Regions from separate parts of the Homo sapiens genome. Here regions 1, 2, 3 and 5 are each linked to region 4. Evidence: promoter capture Hi-C in 16 types of primary human blood cells and fetal thymus (Javierre and others, 2016). All regions are on one chromosome and are shown on one strand. Each heading gives the region's core, a stretch centred on a gene start or on the middle of the fragment in contact. The rest is flanking DNA. Distances are from core to core; before and after follow the strand shown.

Region 1 (4,573 bases), core at 1,953-4,452, 580 kb after region 4:
TGAATTACTATGGCATTTTTGTGGCATTCACATTCTATAAGTGTGACTCTAAAGCTGGGCTCTCTTTTCTTGTTCCATTGATCTATTTGTCTGTTCTTATGCCTGTATCACACTGTCTAGATTACTGTAGCTTTGTAGCAAGTCTTGAAGTCAGGTATTATAAATCTTCTAACTCTGTTTTCAAGATTGCTTTGGATATTCTAAGTCCTTTAAATCTTCATATACATTTAAGAATCTAACAAAAAACGACATAGGATTATGATTGAGATGATTGCAATGACTCTATAAATCAGTTTGGGAATTGACATCTTACCATCATTGAGTCTTCCAATCTATGAACATGGTATGCCTTTTATTTATTTACGTCATTTGTCAGCAGTCTTTTGTAGTTCTTATTATAGATGTTATTCTCAAATTTTAAACAATTTACTCCTAAGCATTTTATGATTTGTCAGCTATTGTAAAGAGTATTTGTAAAATTTCATTTTTCTGATAGTTACTACTTGTATCAGGAATTCAATTGTTTTCTTATATTGACTTTGTAATCTTGCTTAATTCACTTTATTAGTTCTATTAATTGTTTTATAAATTTTTAAGCATGCTCTGCATAAACAACTATGCCATCTGTGATCAGAGAATTTTACTTATTCTATTCTGATCTCTATGCCTCTTTATTTTTTTGTTATCTTATTACACCCACTAGGCCTGCCAACAAAGCATTAACTAGAAATTGTGGGAGTGGACCTTATTCAGATCTTGAGGGAAAAGGTTCAGTATTTCACTATTAAGTAGGATGTTAATTGTAAAGTTTTTTATAAATGCCTGTATCAGATTGGGGACTTAAAGATTTGCTTCTCCTCTGGTGAACCACAGGTACAATCTCTGGTAAGTTATCTTATCCTTAGATGAGCTTCTTGGGGTTTGTTTCCTGTGTGTTTGTTCAGGGGTCATTCAGAGATACAGAATTTGTATACAATGTATGGGACTCCTTTCTGTGGCTTTCTCCTTTCCTGGATATATCGCTTCAATTTTCAACTACGGTGTTAGCCCCAAACTTCATCTTTTGATCTCTTAAGCAAGTAGGACTGAATATTTCTATCCAAATTCTAGCTGTCCTGTGGCTAGAAAAGCTTTTAAAGTGGAGAACTCTTTCAGTGATTTTTTTTTCTTTAAGCTATCTACTTTCCTCTACATCTGTTTGTTTTTAGTGACTTTCCATTTTTTTCAGATAGTTGTTTTTGTATTTTTTCAAATGATTTTACTGAAGTTTGCAGTTGTTTTCTGTAAGAAGTTTAGTCCAATATAAGCTACTTCACAATCACTAGAAACTGAACCTACATTTTTAAATAGTGTGGTCAGAATTGTCCTCACTGATGTTAATCAAGTTTAGCCTAAAGCTGCCTCCTTACATATTTAAGATTAGCCTAAAGGTTTTTCTGTATATTGTGAACTATAACAAGTAGAGGTGTAAACCAATCGTGGCCCACACCTGTGCCAATCACTGAGTTTTGGCCAATCAAGTGTAGCCAGCTGCTCGAACCATGTTCAAATAAGGCAAACACTGAGCTGTAACCAATCCAGTTGTTTCTGTACCTCACTTCTGATTTCTGTGTGTTGTGTCCCTTTTTTTGTCTACAAATCTTCTTCTACCACGTGGCTGTTCTGGAGTCTCTCTGAATCTGCTGTGATTCTGGGGGGCTGCCCAATTCGTTAATTGTTCATTGCTCAATTAAACATCTTTAAATTTAATTTGGCTGAAGTTTTTCTTTTAACAGTGAGAATGTGGTATTTAAGAAAACATTTGAAAGAAGGTAGGGATTTAGCCTAGGTGACAGTTCTTTTTTAGGAAAGCCTTCCAGGCAGATAGAAAGCTATAGCTAAGGTGGCAAAATGCCTCATGTTTTCAAGGAACATCAAGGGGACCAGCTTGATGCTCACAGATTGAGAGAAGACGAGAGTAACCAGTGATGGGATTAGACACATAGCTATGGTTTTGGTGCAGTAAAAATCATGTAGAGCCTTGTTTGCAATTTTTAAGGTAATAACATTGCAGGGTTTTGAGAAAAGCAATGTGATCAAATATGTACTTCAAAGGTATAACTCTATTGCTGTTTTGTGAATAAATTGTATGGTTGCACATATAGAAGAAGGAAACTAATTAGGAGGCTGTTTCAAGAATTGACAGGAAGAATAATGTTCACTCAAAGTAGAGTAGTATCATGAACATGGTGAGACTGATAAAGTGCTAGATATATTATTATGAAGAAAGTCAACAGATTTTCCAATGGTTTGGATGTTAGGTGTGAGAGAAAGAGGGATATTTAAGATGACTCCAGGTTTTCTTGGCAAGTAGCACAGAAGGATGGGTTTCCCATTATGAACCCTGAAAATCTGAGACAAATGTCAGTTTATTTTGCCAAGGTTGAAGACATGCACCCATTAGACAGCCTCAGAGTCCTGAAAACATGTGCCCAAGGTAGTTGGGCCACAGCTTGGTTTTATACATTTTAGGGAGTCGTGAGACATCAATCAACATATGTAAGAAGTACACTGGTTCCATCCAGAAAGGCGGGGACAACTTGAAGCAGGGGAGGAGTCTTCCAGGTCACAGGTAGGTGAGAGACAAATGGTTGTATTCTTTTGAGTTTCTGATAAGCCTTTCCAAAAGAGGCAATCAGAACATTCCTCTATCTCAGTGAGCAGAAGGATGACTTTGAATAGAATGGGAGGCAGATTTGCTCTGAGCAGTTCCCAGCTTGAATTTTCCCTTTAGCTTAGTGATTTTGGGGGCCCAAGATTTTTTTTTTCACACCATCAACTGAGATGGAGTAGTTATAAGTGAATCAGTTTAAGACAGACTGTGTCCTAAAAGGCTCACATTCATAAATGATAGAGATAATTAAACAACTAATATCATTAACTGAACTAGTGTGCTAAGTATTTTTTATAGCAGTTCCATGGGAAAGCAGAGGAAAAAAATATTGTTTCAATTTGTGATCATTTCAACAGGGGGCAATTGATCAATGCATTGAAGAATGAATAGGATGTGAAAAAAACTGAGAAGAAAGGATTAGTAGTGAAAAAAATCATCATGAGCAATAGCAATGCAGAAGTTAATGCTAAGGGCTTGGGGAAAGGACATGGTTTGGTGTGACTAGAGTGGAGGGCATGTGATGATGATGGTTGGTAAAGGTATGGAACACACAGAGAAGAGACTATAGGAAAAATAAGCTAAAGGACACAATGTTTACTATACGGATGAGCTTGCACTTATCCAACAGATGTGGGGGAAGTGGAAGGTGGCATTTTTAAACAGTAATGTTGTAAAAATCTATAGGTGGAAAATAAGCCAGTAATTTGTTTGTTCCTTTTTTTTTCTGTTCATTGTCCAAAGACAATTAAGCATATTATAAATACATCGCAAAAATATGTATTCAGTGGCCAGGCTCAGTGGCTCATGCCTGTAATCCCAGCACTTTGGGAGGCCGAGGTGGTGGATCACGAGGTCAGGAGTTTGAGACCAGCCTGGCCAATATGGTGAAACCCCATCTGTACTAAAAATACAAAAATTAACCAGGCATGGTGGCACATGCCTATAGTCCCAGCTACTGGGGAGGCTGAGGCAGAAGAATCTACTGAACCCAGGAGGCGGAGGTTGCAGTGACCTGAGATCATACCACTGCACTCCAGCCTGGGGAACAGAATGAGACTCTGTCTCAAAAAAAAAAAAAAAAAACCCATACAAAACATATATTCATTCAATATAGTAAATCTACAGTGTCCTAAAGGCATTATCTGAGCTGTTTTATTACAGTGGTTCAGATTTTGATTTGATGACTTCTGTTTTTCCTAGCATGATTTAATGACTTCTCATAACTTTAAATAGAAGGGGGGAAAACACAAAGTGAATAAAACCAGTTTTATCATTCATTTGGGTAAGATATTAAATGGTTGGTTGTTTACCAATGTATCCTGTGAATCAAACATGTTGTATAACTGCTGTGAGAAAATTGATGCTATTAAGTCTCACGATTGTTTTTTCTGTTCAAGTTATGTGCCCCAAGGGTGAGATTTTGGGAGACTTTTAGTAGCAGTCAGTCACAAACAGGAAATGTATTTATTTCTCTTACTCATATAACAAAAGGAAGTAGGATTACCTGTAATCCTAAATGTAAAATGTTTGATGCTTTTTTGCATGTGCTTAGACAAGTATTACTTAATCTAGGAATAGTGTTATATTTGGAGCCCTAGGAGAAACAATACATTTCTTGGGATATTTTAGAGTTATCAAATGTCTTATTAGGAGTTGGGAGGGAGGCCTCTGTGATTTTAATTTTTAATGGTATTTAAAATGATTAATATTTATTATGACTTCTGTATGATACAAAAGGAAAAACTGATCTTAGAACAAAAAGATATGGATTTAAATTCTGGATTCTTAGTAGTGATTTGAGATTGACTCTAACTCCTTGAACTTGTCTTTAAAATGGGCATGATCATACCTTTCCTACTTTTATCCCCAGTAACTATGAAGATTAAAAGGAAATTGATGTAAAGGTAATATAATCATTGT
Region 2 (4,597 bases), core at 2,028-4,527, 550 kb after region 4:
GGGAAACCTGGCACCACAAAAAGAACAAAATTAACAATAATTGACATAAAGAAATGGAGAGCTACAGGCTGCCTATCCAGAGAACACAGGTAGACAACTAGACAATATCAGTGATTTAAAATACTACAAAAGGGTAAAAACCAGGTACTGTGGGAGCTCACAGCAGATTCCCAGGGTACAGGGTTGGGAAAACATCACAAGAGTGTTTTATAAGCTGAGACTTGAGCAATGTGTGGGACAGACTTGGCAAAGTGGTTGGAGAGGTGAGAAAGGGAAGGAAGAGTGTTTCAGGCAGAGGGAATATTATATCTGAAGATCTGGAGAGAACATGGTGCAGTTCATGAATTAAAATATGACTGGTGTGTAGTGCGCGACTCACTAAGCACAGTGTTCTTTAACAGTGAGGCTAAAGTAGCTCATGCAGAAGTGTGTAACCCATAGGGGATTGGGATTTTAGTTAACTTTTTCCCCCAATTTCTCAGGTCAGAAATGTTAGAGTCATGTTTGCCTTCTGTTTTTCTTTTTTTCATATCCTACACCCAATCTCAGTAACTCCCAAGGGTTCCACTCTCAAAATAGATTCAGAATCAGACTACTTAGCACCTCCATGGCTACCCCTTTGCCTAACTCCCCATGATCCCTTGTTTGTTATACTACACTAGCTTCTTAGCTGGAGTCTCCACTTCTCCCCTTGATCTCATAGAGTCTATCCTTCATATTTTCACCAGTTATTTTAAAAGTGAAAGTCACGTCAAAATCTCTAAATGGCTTCGTGTCTCACAGTAAAAGCCAACATCCTTTCAAAGGCCTGCAGGGCCTTATATAATCTGATGTCCCATTCCTTCTCTGACTTCATGTCTTACCCTAGTTCACTTGTTCTTTCCACTGCAACCATTGGCCTCTTGCTATTCCTCAAAGATTTCAGGTATGCTCCTTGCTAAAGGCCTCCATACTTGTTCTTCCCTTCCCTTGGCCTAGAATGCTTTTCTTCCAGAAATCTACATGACTCATTTCATTCATTTCTGCCCACGTGTCACCTGATTTATCAGAGAAGTGATATCTTAACCCACCTATGTAAAATAACTCTGGCCCTCAGATAAGTCCTTTCTCTGCCTCATGTTACACATATTAAATACTTGTTGTTTTTCAATTTGCTTATATCTTCTTCAACTAGAATATAGTTTCCATAAAAGTAGGTAATTGTTTTGTGCCCTATTATTTATATTCCCAGTGCCCAAAATAGTTTTCAGCACATAGGAGACTTTCAATATATATTTGTTAAGTGAATAAACAATGAGCATGTGGTGGGGAGTTTTAACCAGGGAGGTGCTGTAATTAAATTAGAAAACAATCACTCTGGCTGCAGTATGGAAAATGGATTAGAGGAGATCAAGACAAGCCGGAGAGAAATTTTAGGAGATGTATTATTCAGGGGCTGAACATTTGAATTGTTGCTGATGTTTAACCTTTTTAGCTTTTCAAGAATTTTCATGTTGAAAAATCTAATTTGTTTATGCACTAAAGTAATGAGAATGTGTGAGTTGACTAGTTCTTCCAGCACATGGACCAATACAGGCACTCTCTCATTGGACCTGCATTAATTTGAGGTTGCTTCATTTTGCCTCTTACAGTGACTCCTACAGAGCTAGGCTTGCTGAGTCTCTACGGTGACTGATGGAGTCAGTTGGAGGGGCCAGTTGCTACTGAAAATGCTCAGAGACCTAACTCCTAATTTACCCATAAACACCAGCTAGCCAGGCTGTATCATGTCTGCTGTAATTAGTTAGCGAGCTGACTTAGCACCTCAGTGCTATAATTTAAAGTAAACCCTGAACAGTCTTAGACTTGAGTATGCACGGTACAGTTAAGTTTAATCTGTATACAGGTTGTCTCTTTGGAGTCTGGGAATCAGTTTATGCTATTGGTCTTCTCTGACAATCTCCAGGTCACGCAGATTTGTACTGTCTAGGACATAATTAGCCTAGATTATACTCAGTGATTGCCAGCTTCACAGTGGCCTGTGAACAAATTATTTTGTTTAATGTGAGTGAATCAATAATGTGTCAGCAGTAGCATCACTACTCACATGCTATAAAATGCAAGACAGAGTTCAGATGTTTTTATATTTTAAAATAGAATGTATATTCCTTACTGTGTTAGGTGATTACTAGTTTTTTTAACAGATGAATCTGCTTCTATAATAGTGTTCTACCCCAAGAAAATATTGCTGACACAAATTGATTTATGGAAAGTTTTATTTGCTACTACCTATAAATGAGTTGTGCTGGAATTTGTTGCTGTATCTGCAGTTCTTAGTATTTGCTAATATAAAAGATCCTTGTTATCTTAGTGCCAAAAGGCTACTTAAATGAATTCATAAAATATCCTTACCAGAAATTCATAGGAAACAGTGAAAAAAGTTTGTTACTTTACTTTGAAAAATAAAAACCTCAAAAGTTTTATTTTATTTTAACTTGATTTGCTTATAATTACATACAAAGTATTGGAAGGTACAAAGCACAAGCTACAAAAATCACTCAAGAAATATTAGATAACCTGAATTGCCCTCTATATTAAGGAATTTAAGTTTGTAGGTTTAAACCTTCCCAGAAAGAAAACCCCAGAATCAGATAGCTTCATGGGTGAATCCTACCAAACATTTAAGCGAGAAAAAAATGCCAATTCTTTACACACTCTTCCGGAAATTTGAAGAGGATAGAATTCTTCCTAACTCATTCTATGAAGCTAGCATCATCCTGGTATCAAAGCTACATGATAACATTATAAGAAAAGAAAACTACAAACACCTCTTATGCATGTAGATGCAACAATTTTAACAAAATTTCAGATGAAATCCATGATAGTCTGGAAAGGATAGATACATAATAACCAACTGGGATGTATCCCAGGAATGCAAGTTTGATTTAACATTTGAAAATTGATCAGTTACCATATTAACAGACTAACACTCGAGAAAAACATATGATCATCTCAATAGACATAAAAAACACTTGGCAGTAGCCTCATACAAATTCTCACCAAACTAAAAATAGACATAAATCATAAACTGAATGTATAACTTAGGCCCATAAAACATCTAGAAGAAAACGCTGGAGAAAACCTTTGTGACCTTGAATTAGGCAAAGATTTCTTTTATACAACACTAAAAGCATGGTCCATAAAAGGAAAAAATAATAAATTGGAGTACATTAAAATTAAGAACTGTTCTAAAAACATGAGAATAAAAAGGCAAAGCACAGACTGGGAGACAATATTTCAAACCCCATATCTGATAAAGGACATGAATCTAGGATACACAAAGAACTTTAAAAAAACCCAAATGTCCAACAACGAAAGACTGGATTAAGAAAATGTAGCACATATACACCATGGGCTACTATGCAGCCATAAAAAATGATGAGTTCATGTCCTTTGTAGGGACATGGATGAAACTGGAAACCATCATTCTCAGCAAACTATCGCAAGGACAAAAAACCAAACACTGCATGTTCTCACTCATAGGTGGGAATTGAACAATAAGAACACATGCACACAGGAAGGGGAACATCACACTTCGGGGACTGTTGTGGGGTGGGGGGAGGGGGGAGGGATAGCATTAGGAGATATACCTAATGCTAAATGACAAGTTAATGGGTGGAGCACACCAACATGGCACATGTATACATATGTAATAAACCTGCACATTGTGCACATGTACCCTAAAACTTAAAGTATAATAATAATAAAATTAAAAAAATTCAAAATAGGAAACAACCTACTAAACAATGGGCAAAAGACTTAATTATTTAATTCACTAAAGAAGATCACAGATGGCAAATAAGCATATGAAAAGATGTTCAACATCAGTATTCGTTAAGGGAATGCAAATTTAAAGCACAGTGACATACCACCATATGTCCACTAAAATGTCAACAGTTTTAAAACCTGACCATCTGAAGTGATGACAAGTATATGGAGCAACCAGAACTCATATAGTGTTTGAAGGAATGCAAAGTTGCAAAGTGGTACAGTGTTTTTGTAACGTAACAGTTTTTAACGTATTTAAACATACACTTACGATGTGACCTAGCCATTCCCCTTTGAGATATTTGCTCAAAAGAAATTAAAGCGGCCAGGAGTGGTGGCTCACACCTGTAGTCCCAGCATTTTGGGAGGCCAAGAGGGGCAGATCACTTGCAGCCAGGAGTTCGAGACCAGCCTGGCCAACATAGCGAAACCCCGTCTCTACTAAATATACAAAAATTAGTCAGGCATGGTGGCATATGTCTGTAATTCCAGCTACTCTGGAGGCTGAGGCATCAGAATCATTTGAACCCAGGAGGCGGAGGTTGTAGTGAGCCGAGATCTTGCCACTGAACTGCAGCCTGGGTGATGGAGACCCTGTCCCCCACAAAAAAAATATTTTAAAGCATATGTGTACAAAATATATTAAAGCATATGTGTTATAAAATGTTTGTAACAGCTGTATTTGTCATGATCAAAAACTGGAAAGAACCCGAATATCCATTAATTACAATCGAATGGATAAACAAATATTGGTATATCCATACAATGTAATACTACTCAGCAATAAAAA
Region 3 (4,464 bases), core at 1,408-3,907, 530 kb after region 4:
AGACCCTCCCCTGGCTGTAGTAAGTAAAAGAGAGAGACAGAGAAAGAGAGAGAAATAATGGAAGAAGAGTAAGAGAGGGATTTCGACATTCTTGGCTTTGAAGATGGGGGAAGGGTGCCAACAAGCCAAAGAAAGTGGGTAGGTTGTCTACAGAACACGCAAAAAGGAAGGAGATGGATTCTCCTTAGAGCCTCCAGAAGGAATACAACCCTAATTGACTATAGCCCTGTGAGACTCACACCAGACTTCTATCTTAAAGAAATGTAACACCATAAGTTTTTGTTGTTGTTGTTTGTTTTTGAGACAGAGTTTTGCTCTTTTTGCCCAGGCTGGAGTGCAATGGTGCGATCTCAGCTCACTGCAACTTCCACTTCCCAGGTTCAAGCGATTCTCCTGCCTTAGCCTCCTGAGTAGCTGGGATTACAGGCATGCGCCACCATGCCCAGCTAATTTTGTATTTTTTAGTAGAGACGGTGTTTCTCTATGTTGGTCAGGCTGGTCTCAAACTGCCGACCTCGGGTGATCCGCCCGCCTAGGCTTCCCAAAGTCCTGGGATTACAGGCGTAAGCCACCGTGCCTGGCCAAGTTTGTATTATTTAAACCACTAAATTTGTGATAATTTATTATAGCAGCAATCAAAAGCCAATGCATATATATTATTTGCATATTATTTTCTGCTCCAAACATTATCCCATAACTTAAAAAAATTAACATATGTTGTTTTAAATGACACACATCAAAACAAAGTGAAACAAAATTTAAATGTAAAAAGATACAGGTATACATGTGTATATGTATACGTGTGTGTGTGTATATATATATAAATATATACATGTGACACTTTTCATATTAAAACTAAACAAGGATAGGAGTAGCAATGTCTAACAATTACCATGGAAAACAAGAAGGCTTAACAAAATAAAGAAGGCCATTATATAATGATAATAGATAAACTATATGGAATCTGTAATAATCATTATCCCATATTCACTGATGAAATAATGCTATAATATGTAGTAAAAAATAAAGAAAAATTGGGTTCTTTACATCATTCTTAGTCTTTAAAAAGTTGAACAGAGGAATTAGAAAAAAGACAATCATTGTAACATTGGTTATATATTGACATGTATATAGATATATACAGTATATATAGTTAACATTATATTCTAAACCAGGTGCACTTTTTATACAGTTAATGGTATTATAAGACCACAAATAAACTATCAATAAGTTATTAAAATATGAAACTGGTAGTCACATTAATTATCATGAAATAAAACTTGGTAATCAATTTTTCAATAGAATCCACCATTCATTGGAAAATTAAAAATTATTTTCTCCTTATTACACAGATTCAAATCAAAAATCAATTTTATAGTTACAGAAGATTGTATAAATGACTAAAATGCAGACATTGGGATGAGTTCTCTGTACCTTAGCGATGTAGCATGCAAACTTTTCCAGGAGAACCTTAGATTTAGAAAAGCACTGCAGTTAGAAGTGTGGGCACTGGTTTCACACTACCTGAGACTTGAACTCCACTTTCATCACTTGATAGCTGTAGGTCTTGGCAAGTTATCTAGCCTATTTTACCTGTTTCCTCATAGCTTCATTGTGGTAAGGGTTAAAAGAATAACTTCTGAAAAGTGTTCAGCACAGCCTTGGCACATAGCAAATTCAGGGAAACATATGCTGTTATTATTATATTAAATCTTCCCCCATTTGACTAAAAAACTGAGATATTTTATTGGGTATTGGATTAATAGATTATTTTAGTGAAAGTCGACATATTTACAATATTAAGCATCTTGGTCTTTCTATTAATTCAAGTCTTTGCATACATTACTCATCACAGTCTTAATGTTTCCTTCATAGGTTTTCCAAATTTTTATTGGAATGTCCCTACAGGTTCATTGTTAGGAATGCTATTAGCTGTTGATCTGAAATATTTTTATATCTAGTTTATTAAATGTTATTAGGAAAGGTTATTGAATTTTATCAAATACTCTTTCTCTTATTTTCCATATTTATGTGATATATGAACTGACACACTTCCAATATTATCCTAATTAACCCATCTTTGTATTATCGTTTAGTTGTGGTAAAGTTTTTCCTTTTATAATACCATCAAATTATATCAACAATGTTTTCTTTCATATCCTAATAATTACATTTATCAGTTATATTGTTCAATAGTTTTCTTTTTTTGTATTCTTTTAAATTGGGTTTGAATATAATAAAAATACCTGGGAAATTCCTTCTCTATGATTTGGAAAGATTTTTAGTATGACTTATCATATTTTGAGGGCATAAAAAAACTCTGCTTTAGGAAGCTTTATAGTTGTATTTGATTAGTAGCTTCTTTTCCATTTCTGTCTGTTTTGGTTTTCTACTTCATGAATCAATTTTAATAATTTATATAAATATCAGGTTTTTAAAACACATATGCTGTAAAGTTGTTTATATTTTTATTGAGAATTCCCTTACAGAAAATATGATTTGGAAGAGCTCATGGAAAATTTTCTTTGACAGACAAGCACAATACTTTTTTTTTTACTTTAAGTTCTGGGATACATGTGCAGAACATGCAGGTTTGTTATATAGGTATACATACACCATGGTAGTTTGCTGCACCTATCAACCCATCATCTAGATTTTAAGTCCTGCATGCATTAGGTATTTATCCTAATGCTCTCCCTTCCCTTGTCTCCACCCCCTGACAGGCCCCAGTGTGTGATGTTCCCCTCCCTGTATCCATGTGTTCTGATCGTTCAACTCGCGCTTATGCATGAGAACATGCAGTGTTTGGTTTTCTGTTCCTGAAGTACAAACTTCTTTAAGAGCAGCTAGTGACAAGCAGGATACATCAATCTCTTAGTTTAATTTAAAACAAAAACAAAAAGAAAACACTCTGGGACAGAAAATATAATGATCTTAAAATATCCTAGGGAACTTGCCTCTTCTAGCTGATGCTGCCAAGCTAAGCTTCTTCAGCTCATTAGCTTCTGCTTCATCTCAGGCAGTAGCTACCCATGTTGTTTATTGCTTTGGCTCCACTCCTGGTTTTCTGGATCCTTGTTTATTCCTTGGCTGTGATTTTCCCTTGACATCTCAGTTTCTTAGTAAGCTTATCTTATGAATGGGCTTCTTTGCTATTCTCTGGAGTAAGCTATGCATCTGTCTGTCATTATGCAGTACCAACTCTGGTTGCCTCACAGCAACCTACTCCAACTTTGGTGGCTTTTGATGCCAGTGCTAACTGTTCACATTCTGATAATCATTTTGAAACATTTTGTTACAACAATGAATGCTATATAGTGAAAAGATAACTGACGATATAAATGGAGCCTATTAAATAAGATGCCCCAAGCAATGTCATGGACACTACAAATAATTACATGGACGCATATATCTCTGTGGCATAAAAATGTATTGTACTCTTTAAAGCAACTTCCAAAATTTTCATTGGAACACTTAAAATAATCATGGGAGAAAGTTTTTATTCCACATTAGCAACTAGCTTTCTTTCTCTGTAATTTTTAATCATCCCTGATTTAACTCAAAGGAATTCAATATTTGTTGAGTAGGTATTAGAAGCACATTGAGGATTAAAACAGGGAAAATATATCAGCTTTACCTTTTTCAGTTCAGGAGGAAATATTAATAAATAAATTAATAACTACAAATAGAGCAATAAATAAAACTTGGATAAAGTCCACCTTTAAAGATTCTCTTCTGGTATTGATTCTAATATATACCTACCCTGGCTAGATAGACATTTTAAAAAATAGACTTTATTTTATAGAACAGTTTTAAATTTACGGAAAAATTCAGAAAATAGTACTGAGTTTCCCATATGTCACACATCTAGTTTTTCCGATTATTAACATCTTACATTATATGATAAAATGAATCTATATTGATACATTACTATTAACAAAAGTTTATACTTTATTTAGATCTTCTTCGTTTTTCTGTAATGCTGTTTCTCTGTTCCAGGATCCAATCCAAGATATCACATTATATTTAGTTGTCATGTTTTTCTAGGTTCTTCTTACTTGTGACAGTTTCTTAGACTTTCCTTGTTTTTGATTGTCTTTACAGTTTTGAGACATACTCTTCGGGTATATTGTAGGATGTCCCTCTGTTGGGATTTAATTGTTTTTCTCACGATCAGACTGGGGTTACAGGTTTTGCAGGAAGATTGCAGAGGTAAAGTACAATTCTCGCCACATTATATCAAGTATCCATCCTATCAGTATGATATATTGGTGTTGATGTTAATCCTGATCACTGTCTGAGGTAGTGTTTGTCAGGTTTCTCCATAGGTAAGTTACTCTCTTTTCCCATTTTCTAAACTGAACTCTGAAAGGAAGTCACTATCATCAGTTCCCATTTAAGAAGTGAAGAATTCTACTCCTCCTTCAGAGTGGAGTATCTACATAAATTTTAGGAATTCTGCAT
Region 4 (4,268 bases), core at 973-3,472:
TAGTTTATAATAAAATGTTATACACGTGAGAAATAGTAGAATAAATGTAAATTCAACACAATATTCTAATGTATAGATATAAAGTTGTTATCTATCTATCTATCTATCTAAACAGATTTTAACTAGAAAGACTTCCACCCAGTTACGGTTAAGTAGATTAATCTCAAATCAATTTCAAATATGGTTAAATAAATTTATCTCAATTGGGGCTACTATTCTTTATTTAGACATATGTCTATCAATAAATATAAAGGCAAATAACTTTGTTTAAGGATGTATAACAATATGGAAATTCAGCATAAAAGCATATTTCCTCTTTGAAAAATCTTTAATGAATATTGGAACCCTAACTTATTCTAATTCAATTTGATTCCTTTATAAGTTTTTAGCTAAACTGTACTAAACACAATCAGACCCCAGAGGGAAATAACATAGTAAACTTCAGTTAGGTTGGGTTTAGAATTCTATCCACAATTCTCCAGTCAATATCTAATTGTAAGCACACTGAAGAATTTCAACTCTGCAATTTGAAAAAAGAATCCATTAAAACACCAATGATATTAAGTTAGAGTATACTGCAAACTCTTTGACTGCTTTATTTAATAAAATAACAAGATAAAAATGAAGTCAATGGAAATTACTAGTCATAGACACTAAGTTGGTCCCCTCAAGAAAATTAGCAACATTAATAACTAACAACATTGACAAAAGTGCCCTTTAAGTGAAACTTCATAAAATAAAGCCACTTTCCTGTAATTTAAGCTTAAGAGGTAGAGACTGACAAAATACAAGTATTATTCCTTCATGTCTCTTGTCCATCAACACAAATTAAAAACAGCACTTCAATACAAACAATTCAATATGTGCTGAAATATAAAGACATGGATTATATGGTCTAAATTGATGAAAGTTATTCAAAAGCAGTCTCCTTTATAAAACCCAAATGGCATGAATTCCACAATATGAGATTGTGTGTAACTCTCTTACTCTAAAATTCTATTTTCTTTTTAGGAATAACAGATTAATGTAAATGTGAATTTTTCAAAAGAAAACTGATTGAGTAGCAAATATGTCTGAATTTGCCACCACATACTCTATCTGAAAAATGGAAAGAAGCCAGGTCATTTCGTTGCTACCCAGAGAGATGATCCTAGCACACCTGTCACCTGCTTGCCTGTCCTGGATCCAGTCTCCGGGAACCAGTTCAATTCCAGCATCCTAATACACACTGTCTGGTCTCCCTAGTTCAGCTTGCCCTCCCTGATAACGGCCCCTTTGGCAGAGCAGCTTATTCTTAATGCTAACAGTAGGTATCACTTACAGAACACTTGCTGACTGTTCAGTTCCCATCAAAGAAAGCCTTATGTGGCAGATCCTTTGATGATGCTTGTTTTACAGACAAACGTTTGGGGCTTAGGTTAAGAAACTTGAGAGGGGGCAAACTAATAAGTGGCAAAGCCGAGCTTTGAACCTACCACTCTTCTGCTTCAGAATTCATATCCTTAACTCATGCACTCCCATTTAATTATTTATGTTTATTATTTCATTGTTTGGTGAGCGCTTATATTGAAAATTCATTTTTTTTTTGGTGGGGGGCATGCTTTCTGTCACTTTGCAGAAACAAATAAAAGTTGAGCTGAACCCTCAATTAAGTTCTTTCCAGTGCGATGATTCAACACAATATTCTAACCATAAGGATACTCAGAGGAAGGAGTATGCCATCCAGAAGTCTAGTATCTTTGTAAGGCACGATTTTTGCCAGGCACAATTACAGGTGAAGGGCTCATTGAACTAAAGGGAGGAGGGGTCCTATGGTCACATTTACCTCCAAGCCCTTCTCTGCACCCTTTCCCTCCCTTCTTTCCCCTCTCTCCCTCCCACCCTACAAGCTTACCTTGGTTAGGAAAGCATATTCTGAGAAAATCAAAAGGAAAAGGCATGTGTGCGATTCAGGCTGCTATGACACACACACACTTAACTTTGTTGCCTATGGATTCTGCTTTCTAATAACTTGCCCTCAACATGACCCCAGGGAGTGGATTAGAAAGTTTTTTTCCCCATCCCCATTTTTTACCTGTTATTCACACTGTGAGCAGGAGGACCCTTTTCACCATCGTTGTTCGGCTGAACTTGCTTCGCGGTTTGTTCTCGGCTGGGTCAGGAACTCTGGTAGAGGGAAACCAGTGCCCTGTCTCTGCCGGGCTGGGACTCCGCGAGTCACTCACCTGTAGGGGAGGTCCGAGGCCCGCGCGGGCGCAGGGGCGGCGCCTGTCTCCTCCCAGAGCATGGCTCAGCTGGGCGCTTGCAGTGCCCCCGACGCGATCAGCGATCCTGGAGCCCCAGGAGCTGTTAATTATTTCTCCTTTTCGCCACAGCAGGGAAGTGTCAAGAAACCTGAGCCACTCCCTGTGCCTCAGTGCATGTTGGGAGTGTTTACTTTCTTAGGAACAGCTGATAGGTACACTCCTTTGCTCTCTGCCACACTTCTTGAGAAATGAATGGACATTCTAGTTAACGCTTTAACCACGGGATTTGACTGATGTTAATCTCTATTCTCTAGTCCACCCAGACTGTAGGTAATTGGCCTGTGAGAAATGACACCAACCAAGACTGAACGCCATTATTCACGTCTTTCTTTTTAAGATTTTTCTTTTCCAATTTGAGATTTGTTAACTTTCTTTTCCTTGTTATTTTGCTAACACATTTCCCTGCTAGCACTTTTTTTCACCCAGAGCAGCGTTTCGCGCTTCAGGGTGCACCAGGACCACCTATGTATTCTGCTAAACCCAGGTACCATCAACTGTGAGACTCTGATTTAGTAGGCCATGCATACACTTCGGGTATTTATATTTTTTATAAGCTCCACAGAAGAAACTGGTAGACATCAAAGTTTGAAAATGAACATAATGAAACAAAACAGAGGAGATAAATAATAATTTAGTCATTATCTACTGAATTGGATTTGGGGGCTTTGTTTTATCCAATATCTCCAATTTCAAAAGGACACCAAAAAGGCTTAGAAACTGTTAAATGACAGATGCTGTGGAAATATGAAGTACATTTACACACACACACACACACACACACACACAGATTTTTAAGGATCATTGTTATTTTACTGGTTTCCTATGTAAAGCAACTATTCATAATTTTTAAACATAATAGGTTATTTTACAAGTGTAAACCTGAGAGCCCTCAAAAGAAATTCAATCTGATTCCTGCAAAAAGTTCAGCAGGCAGAGTTAATTTCTAGTATCTTTCGTGTTCAAACGCCAGACAAACAGAATGACTCTAGATGTTCAGGTTGCATGTTTGTCATAGCACTTTAAGTAAGATCCTATATGTTCAAAAGGTGAGGCAGGCCAGGTGCAGTGACTCACGCCTGTAATCTCAGCACTTTGGGAGACCAAGGCTGGTGGATCACTTGAGCCCAGGAGTTCAAGACCAGCCTGGACAACATGGCAAAACCCTGTCTCTGCAAAAAAAAAAAAAAAAATTAGCCCGGCATTGTGGGGCATGCCTATAGTCCCAGCTACTCGGGAGGCTGAGGTGGGAGGATCACTTGAGCCTGGGAAGTCGAGGCTGCAGAGAGCCAAGATTGCACCACTGCACTCCAGCCTGATTCAAAAAAAAAAAAGAAAAAATATTAGGCAGTTTATCTATTTAATCTGTGGTGTGCGGAGACCAGGAACTATCAGATTTATCATTATTTGAGCAAATGGTTTTATTGGATCACAATCAAAGATTTTACAATCTTATGTAAGGACAGATGTGACTTAGTATTACTTGCAGATATTAATTCGATCATCATGTTGGCTCCATAACTCTCTGGTATGTGGCTGCTGGTATGGACTGACCTTTGAATGATGACTAGCAGGACCTAGAGTAGTTACAGCTCTCGGTTCCAGGATATCTTGCTCAAATCCATGCTCCACCTCCATTGTCTGTGCTTGAAGTGGGTCATTTGCTTATTGTCAGCATCAGGGCAACATTCTTTTGCATCTTTTACCTGCAAGCATTGGATTTGGGGGCTTTGTTTTTTGCCAATATCTCCAATTTCAAAAGGACTCCAAAAAGGCTTAGAAACTGTTAAATGGCAGATGCTGTGGAAACTTTTACTCTGATGACTGCTTTCCAACTGGTTTTCTAAAGAAAAGTAAAGTTAGAGGCTTAGTGACTTCGTTTTTTAGTGTTTTATCTGTTTGTAAATATGTAATTTTTATTTGATAATATAAAAAGTATATAATTGCACATATGCAATGTGGAAA
Region 5 (4,728 bases), core at 283-2,782, 510 kb after region 4:
TAAGGCCTAAAGCTATAAATGCCCAAGAAGAAAACCTAGGCAGTACCATTCAGGACACAGGCATGGGCAAAGTCTTCATGACTAAAACACCAAAAGCAATGGCAGCAAAAGCCAAAATTGACAAATGGGATCTAATTAACCTAAGGAGCTTCTGCACAGCAAAAGAAACTATCATCAGAGTGAACAGGCAACCTATAGAATGAGAGAAAAATTTTGCAATCTATCCATCTGACAAAGGGCTAATATCCAGGATCTACAAAGAACTTAAACAAATTTACAAGAAAAACAAACAAACATGCCCATCAAAAAGTGGGTGAAGGATGTGAACAGACACTTCTTAAAAGAAGACATTTATGCGGCCAAAAAAACATATATAAAAAGAAAGCTCATTATCACTGGTCATTAGAGAAATGCAAATCAAAACCACAATGAGATACCATCTCACACTAGTTAGAATGGCAATCATTAAAAAGTCAGGAAACAACAGATACTGAAGAGGAAGTGGAGAAATAGGGATGCTTTTATATTGTTGGTGGGAGAATAAATTAGTTCAGCCATTATGGAAGACAATGTAGCGATTCCTCAAGGATCTAGAACCAGAAATACCATTTGACCAGCAATCTCATTACTGGATATATACCCAAAGGATTATAAATCATTCTACTATAATCACACATGCACAGGTATGTTTCTTGCAGCACTATAGCAATAGCAAAGATGTCAAACCAACCCAAATACCCATCAATGATAGATTGGATAAAGAAAATGTGGCACATATACACCATGGAATACTATGCAGCCATAAAAAAGGATGAGTTCACATCCTTTGCAGAGACATGGGTGAAGCTAGAAACCATCATTCTCAGCAAACTAACACAAGAACAGAAAACCAAACACCACATGTTCTCACTCATAAGTGGGAGTTGAACAATGAGAACACATGGACACAGGGAGGGGAACATCACACACCAGGGCCTGTCAGAGGGTGGGGCGCTAAGGGAGGGACACCATTAGGAGAAGTACCTAATGTAGATGACGGGTTGATGGGTGCAGCAAACCACCATAGCACATGTATACCTATGTAACAAACCTGCACATTCTGCACATGTATCTCAGAACTTAAAGTATAATAATAATGAAAAAAATGCTCTACACTTTAACTCCACACCTCCCACAAACACTTTGAATTTTTATTATATCAGTTCGCATATTTTAAAAATATCTATTTTGAACAGGTTGTTGTCGCTATTATTGTTTTTGATAGATTTGTCTTTATAAGCTTCTTACTAGAGTTATGATTGGATTGCACACCACAATTAAATTATTAGCATATTCTGGGGTTGTGTTCATACTTAATTTTACCAGTGGGTTTTATACCTTGAAATATTTTCTTTTAGTTAGTACACTAATATGTTAGCATTTTTTAATTTCAGGTTGAAGAATTCCCTTTAGCATTTCTTGCAAGACGGGTCTAGTAGTGGTGAATTCTCTTAGCTTTTGTCTGTGAAAGACAATTTCTCTTTGTTAATGCTGCCCTATTTCCTTCTGGCCTACATGGTTTCCATTGTGAAGTCTGTTGCCAGATGAACTGGAGTTGCTTTGTTATTTTACTCTTTTGCTGCTTTCTGGATCTTCTCTTTGTCTTTGATATTTGAAAGTTCAATTATTATATGCCTTGGTTAGTGTTACTTGGGTTGAATCTGTTTGGTGTTCCCTGACCTTTCTATATCTAGATATTTCTGTCTTTCATGAGTTTTGGAAAGTGCTCTGTTATTATTTCTTAGGATAAGCTTTTCTCCCCTTGCTCTTGCTCAGCTCCCCCTTAAACACCAATAATTTTTAGATTTGGTCTTTTGAGGTAATTTTCTATATTTTAAAGGTGGCCTTCATTTCTTTTTATTGTTTTTTTCTTTTCTTTCTTTGGACTGTATTTTCTTAATAGCCAGTCTTTGAGCTCACTGATTCTTTTCTCTAACCCATTCTGTTATTGAGATCCTCTAAAGAGTGTTTCAATTCAGCAAATGTGGTTCTCCGTTCCAAGATTTCTGTTTCATTTTTAAATTATTATTTCAATTTTCTTGTTAAATTTCTCTGATAAGTATCTGAATTGTTTTTCTATGTTATCTTGTAGGTCACTGAGTTTCCTTAAAATTGCTATTTTGAATTCTTAGTTATAAAGTTCACATATCGGTTTTCTAATCCCAAAATGGCAGCATAGAAGCAAGCTTGCTTCTCTCCCCTCCACCAGAAACCAAAAAGAAATACACAGCAGCAAGATCTTCACCAGCAGCAACCCAGAGATCCTGTATGAGGATGAGACAGTTCCTGTAGGTACAGAGAAGTGGAAACATTCTGAGCAGATGGTAGGAGAACCAGATTCTACATCCATGAGGCCTCTTCCCTGCATTACACCAGGCATCAGCAGTATGAAAAATCTGCCCTCAACTCATGGTTTCTGCACTGAAAAACGTGAAATTGAGATTGTCAACCAGCTTTCCCATCTTCTTCGGTTTCCTGCCAGGAGACCTGCCTTTGCCTTAAACCACAGGTAGCACTGTGACTGCCTGGAGGGAGAAATGTCTGTGAAGGCTGGCAAAGACAAATAGGGAAGCCAGGACTACCATCCTCAGCCGTAAAAACTCCTTGTAACTTGACCAAAGGAGATGCCAAATCAGTAGAAATCATGTAGCAAGTATGTTCCACAAGTCCCCTGGGAACACACCCGTGGCCGGCCTTCCCACAGTGCTAGGGTAATCCCTTTGGTCCTCCTCCTTATGGGACAGGCAGTGCCATGGCCATTTGCAAAAGTCAAGGTAAACATAGGCTTATGGCGCCATCTAGAGCCGAAAACAAGGCAGCAAGCTGGCAGTTAAGATTCATAAGCAACTGTATTCAATAAAAACCAAACCAAACTAGACAGATAAAGCTGGACTAAATAATTATTAATACAAATACATAGATGTATACCCACAAGAAACAACAGCAAACATGGAACCATAACCTTCTAGACAAAGCAAAGTTCCAGCGACTGACCCTCCTGAGATGGCGATTTGTGAACTCTCTGACCAAGAATTCAAAACAGCTGTTTTAAGGAAACTTTGTTATCTCTAAGATAACACAGAAAAGCAACTCAGATATTTATCAGAGAAATTTAACAAGGAAATTGAAATAATGATAAGCAGAAATCTTGTAACTAAGAACTACATTTGCTGAACTAAGAAACTCTTCAGGGGATCTCAACCACAGAATAGGTCAAGCAGAGAAGAGAATCAATGAGCTCAAAGACTGGCTGTTAAAAAATAAACAGAGGAGAGAAAAGAAAAAAAGAATGAAAATGAGAGAAGGCCACTTACAAGATATAGAAAATTACCTCAAAGACAAAATCTAAAAATTATTGATGTTCAAGAGAGAGCAGAGCAGGAGCAAGGGTAGAAAGCTTATTCAAAGAAATAATAAGAGAATACTTTCCAAAACATGAGAAAGATATAAATATTCAGGTACAGGAAGGCCTTAGAGCATCACATTAGTCAAATAAGACTAATGAAGGTATTTACTAATCAAACTGTCAAAGATCAAGCATAAAGATAAAACTGTAATGGCAGCAAGAGAAAAGAAGCAAGCAGCATATAAAGGAGCTCCAAATCATCTTTAGCCAGAATAAGAAAAAAAGAGAGAAGACCCAAATAAATAAAAGTAGGAACAAAAATGGACACATGACAACTGAGACCTCAGAAATACTAAGAATCATTAGAAACAATTAGGAACCATTACATGCCAACAAATTGGAAAATATAGAAGAAATGGATAAATTCCTGGACACATGCAACCTACCAATATTGAACCATCAACAAATAGAAAACCTCAATAAGCCAATAATGAGTTATGAAATCAAAGCCATAATAAAAAGTCTCCCATCAAAGAAAAGCTCACGGCCTGATAACTTCACTGCTAAGTTCTACCAAACATTTAAAGAACTAATACCAATTCTATTCAAATACTTCAAAACGATTAAAGAGGAGAGAGGGAATACTTTCAAACTCATTCTACAAGGCCAGTGTTACTGTGATACCAAAACCAGACAAGGACACATTTTTTTTTTAAAGAAGCTAGAGGCCAATATCACCAGTGAACACAGATGTAAAAATCTTCAGCAAAATACTCATTTACCATTGTCAAGTAGAATTCATTCCAGAGATACAGGATGGTTCAACATATGCAAATCAATACATGTTATACACGACATTAACAGAATCGAGAATGAGAATCATATAATTATTTCAATAGATGCCATAAAGGTAAAGGCATTTGATAAAATTCAACATTCCTTTATGATAAAAATCCTCAACAAACTGGGCATAGAAGAAACATACCTGAAAATAATAAAAGCCATCTATGACAAACCCATAGCTAACAACACACTTAACAAGGAAAAATTGAAGGCCTTTCCTCTAAAGGCTAGACCAAGATAAGAATGCCCACTTTCACTATTATTTTGCTGTTATTCAATATAATACTGGAAGTCCTGGCCAGAGCAATTAGGTAAGAAAAAGAAATGAAGGAAAACCAAATTGGAAAGGTAGAAGTCAAATTAGCTTTGTTCATCTTATATGCAGAAAAACCTAAAGACTCTACCAAAAAAAACTGTTATAACTCATACAGGAATTTAGTAAAGTTGTAGGATACAAAATCAATGTACAAAAATTAGTAGTGTTTCTACACACCAAGACT

Evidence for each region. The method cuts DNA at HindIII sites, captures the fragments that hold promoters and counts their contacts. A CHiCAGO score of 5 or more calls a contact.
Region 1: a contact is called between a fragment that was not itself captured here and the fragment with the promoter of RASSF6 in region 4, in 1 of 17 cell types (neutrophils). The highest score is 8.3, in neutrophils.
Region 2: a fragment that was not itself captured here is called in contact with the fragment with the promoter of RASSF6 in region 4 in 1 of 17 cell types (neutrophils); the score reaches 8.8 in neutrophils.
Region 3: a contact is called between a fragment that was not itself captured here and the fragment with the promoter of RASSF6 in region 4, in 3 of 17 cell types (neutrophils, fetal thymus and M1 macrophages). The highest score is 8.5, in neutrophils.
Region 5: a fragment that was not itself captured here is called in contact with the fragment with the promoter of RASSF6 in region 4 in 7 of 17 cell types (fetal thymus, monocytes, neutrophils and 4 more); the score reaches 16.7 in fetal thymus.

The regions. Positions count from the first base shown.
Region 1 is chr4:74,193,228-74,197,800 of GRCh38, forward strand. All of the region lies in intron 3 of MTHFD2L (methylenetetrahydrofolate dehydrogenase (NADP+ dependent) 2 like), which reads left to right. Among named protein-coding and RNA genes, the nearest start is that of MTHFD2L, 37 kb to the left of the region's middle. The HindIII fragment of the contact is 4,148 bases long and covers 1,129-4,573 here.
Region 2 is chr4:74,167,391-74,171,987 of GRCh38, forward strand. The region is part of intron 1 of MTHFD2L (methylenetetrahydrofolate dehydrogenase (NADP+ dependent) 2 like); the gene reads left to right. Among named protein-coding and RNA genes, the nearest start is that of MTHFD2L, 12 kb to the left of the region's middle. The HindIII fragment of the contact is 8,326 bases long and covers 1-4,597 here.
Region 3 is chr4:74,149,971-74,154,434 of GRCh38, forward strand. It overlaps a transcript of MTHFD2L not described here. Among named protein-coding and RNA genes, the nearest start is that of MTHFD2L, 5.9 kb to the right of the region's middle. The HindIII fragment of the contact is 652 bases long and covers 2,332-2,983 here.
Region 4 is chr4:73,618,214-73,622,481 of GRCh38, forward strand. RASSF6 (Ras association domain family member 6) reads right to left here and starts at 2,223. Exons shown (of 11, transcript NM_177532.5): 1 at 2,075-2,223. RefSeq lists enhancers at 1,697-2,246, 2,247-2,795. The HindIII fragment of the contact is 3,198 bases long and covers 1,888-4,268 here.
Region 5 is chr4:74,131,607-74,136,334 of GRCh38, forward strand. All of the region lies in intron 1 of LOC105377277 (a long non-coding RNA gene), which reads right to left. It also overlaps a transcript of MTHFD2L not described here. Among named protein-coding and RNA genes, the nearest start is that of MTHFD2L, 24 kb to the right of the region's middle. The HindIII fragment of the contact is 511 bases long and covers 1,278-1,788 here.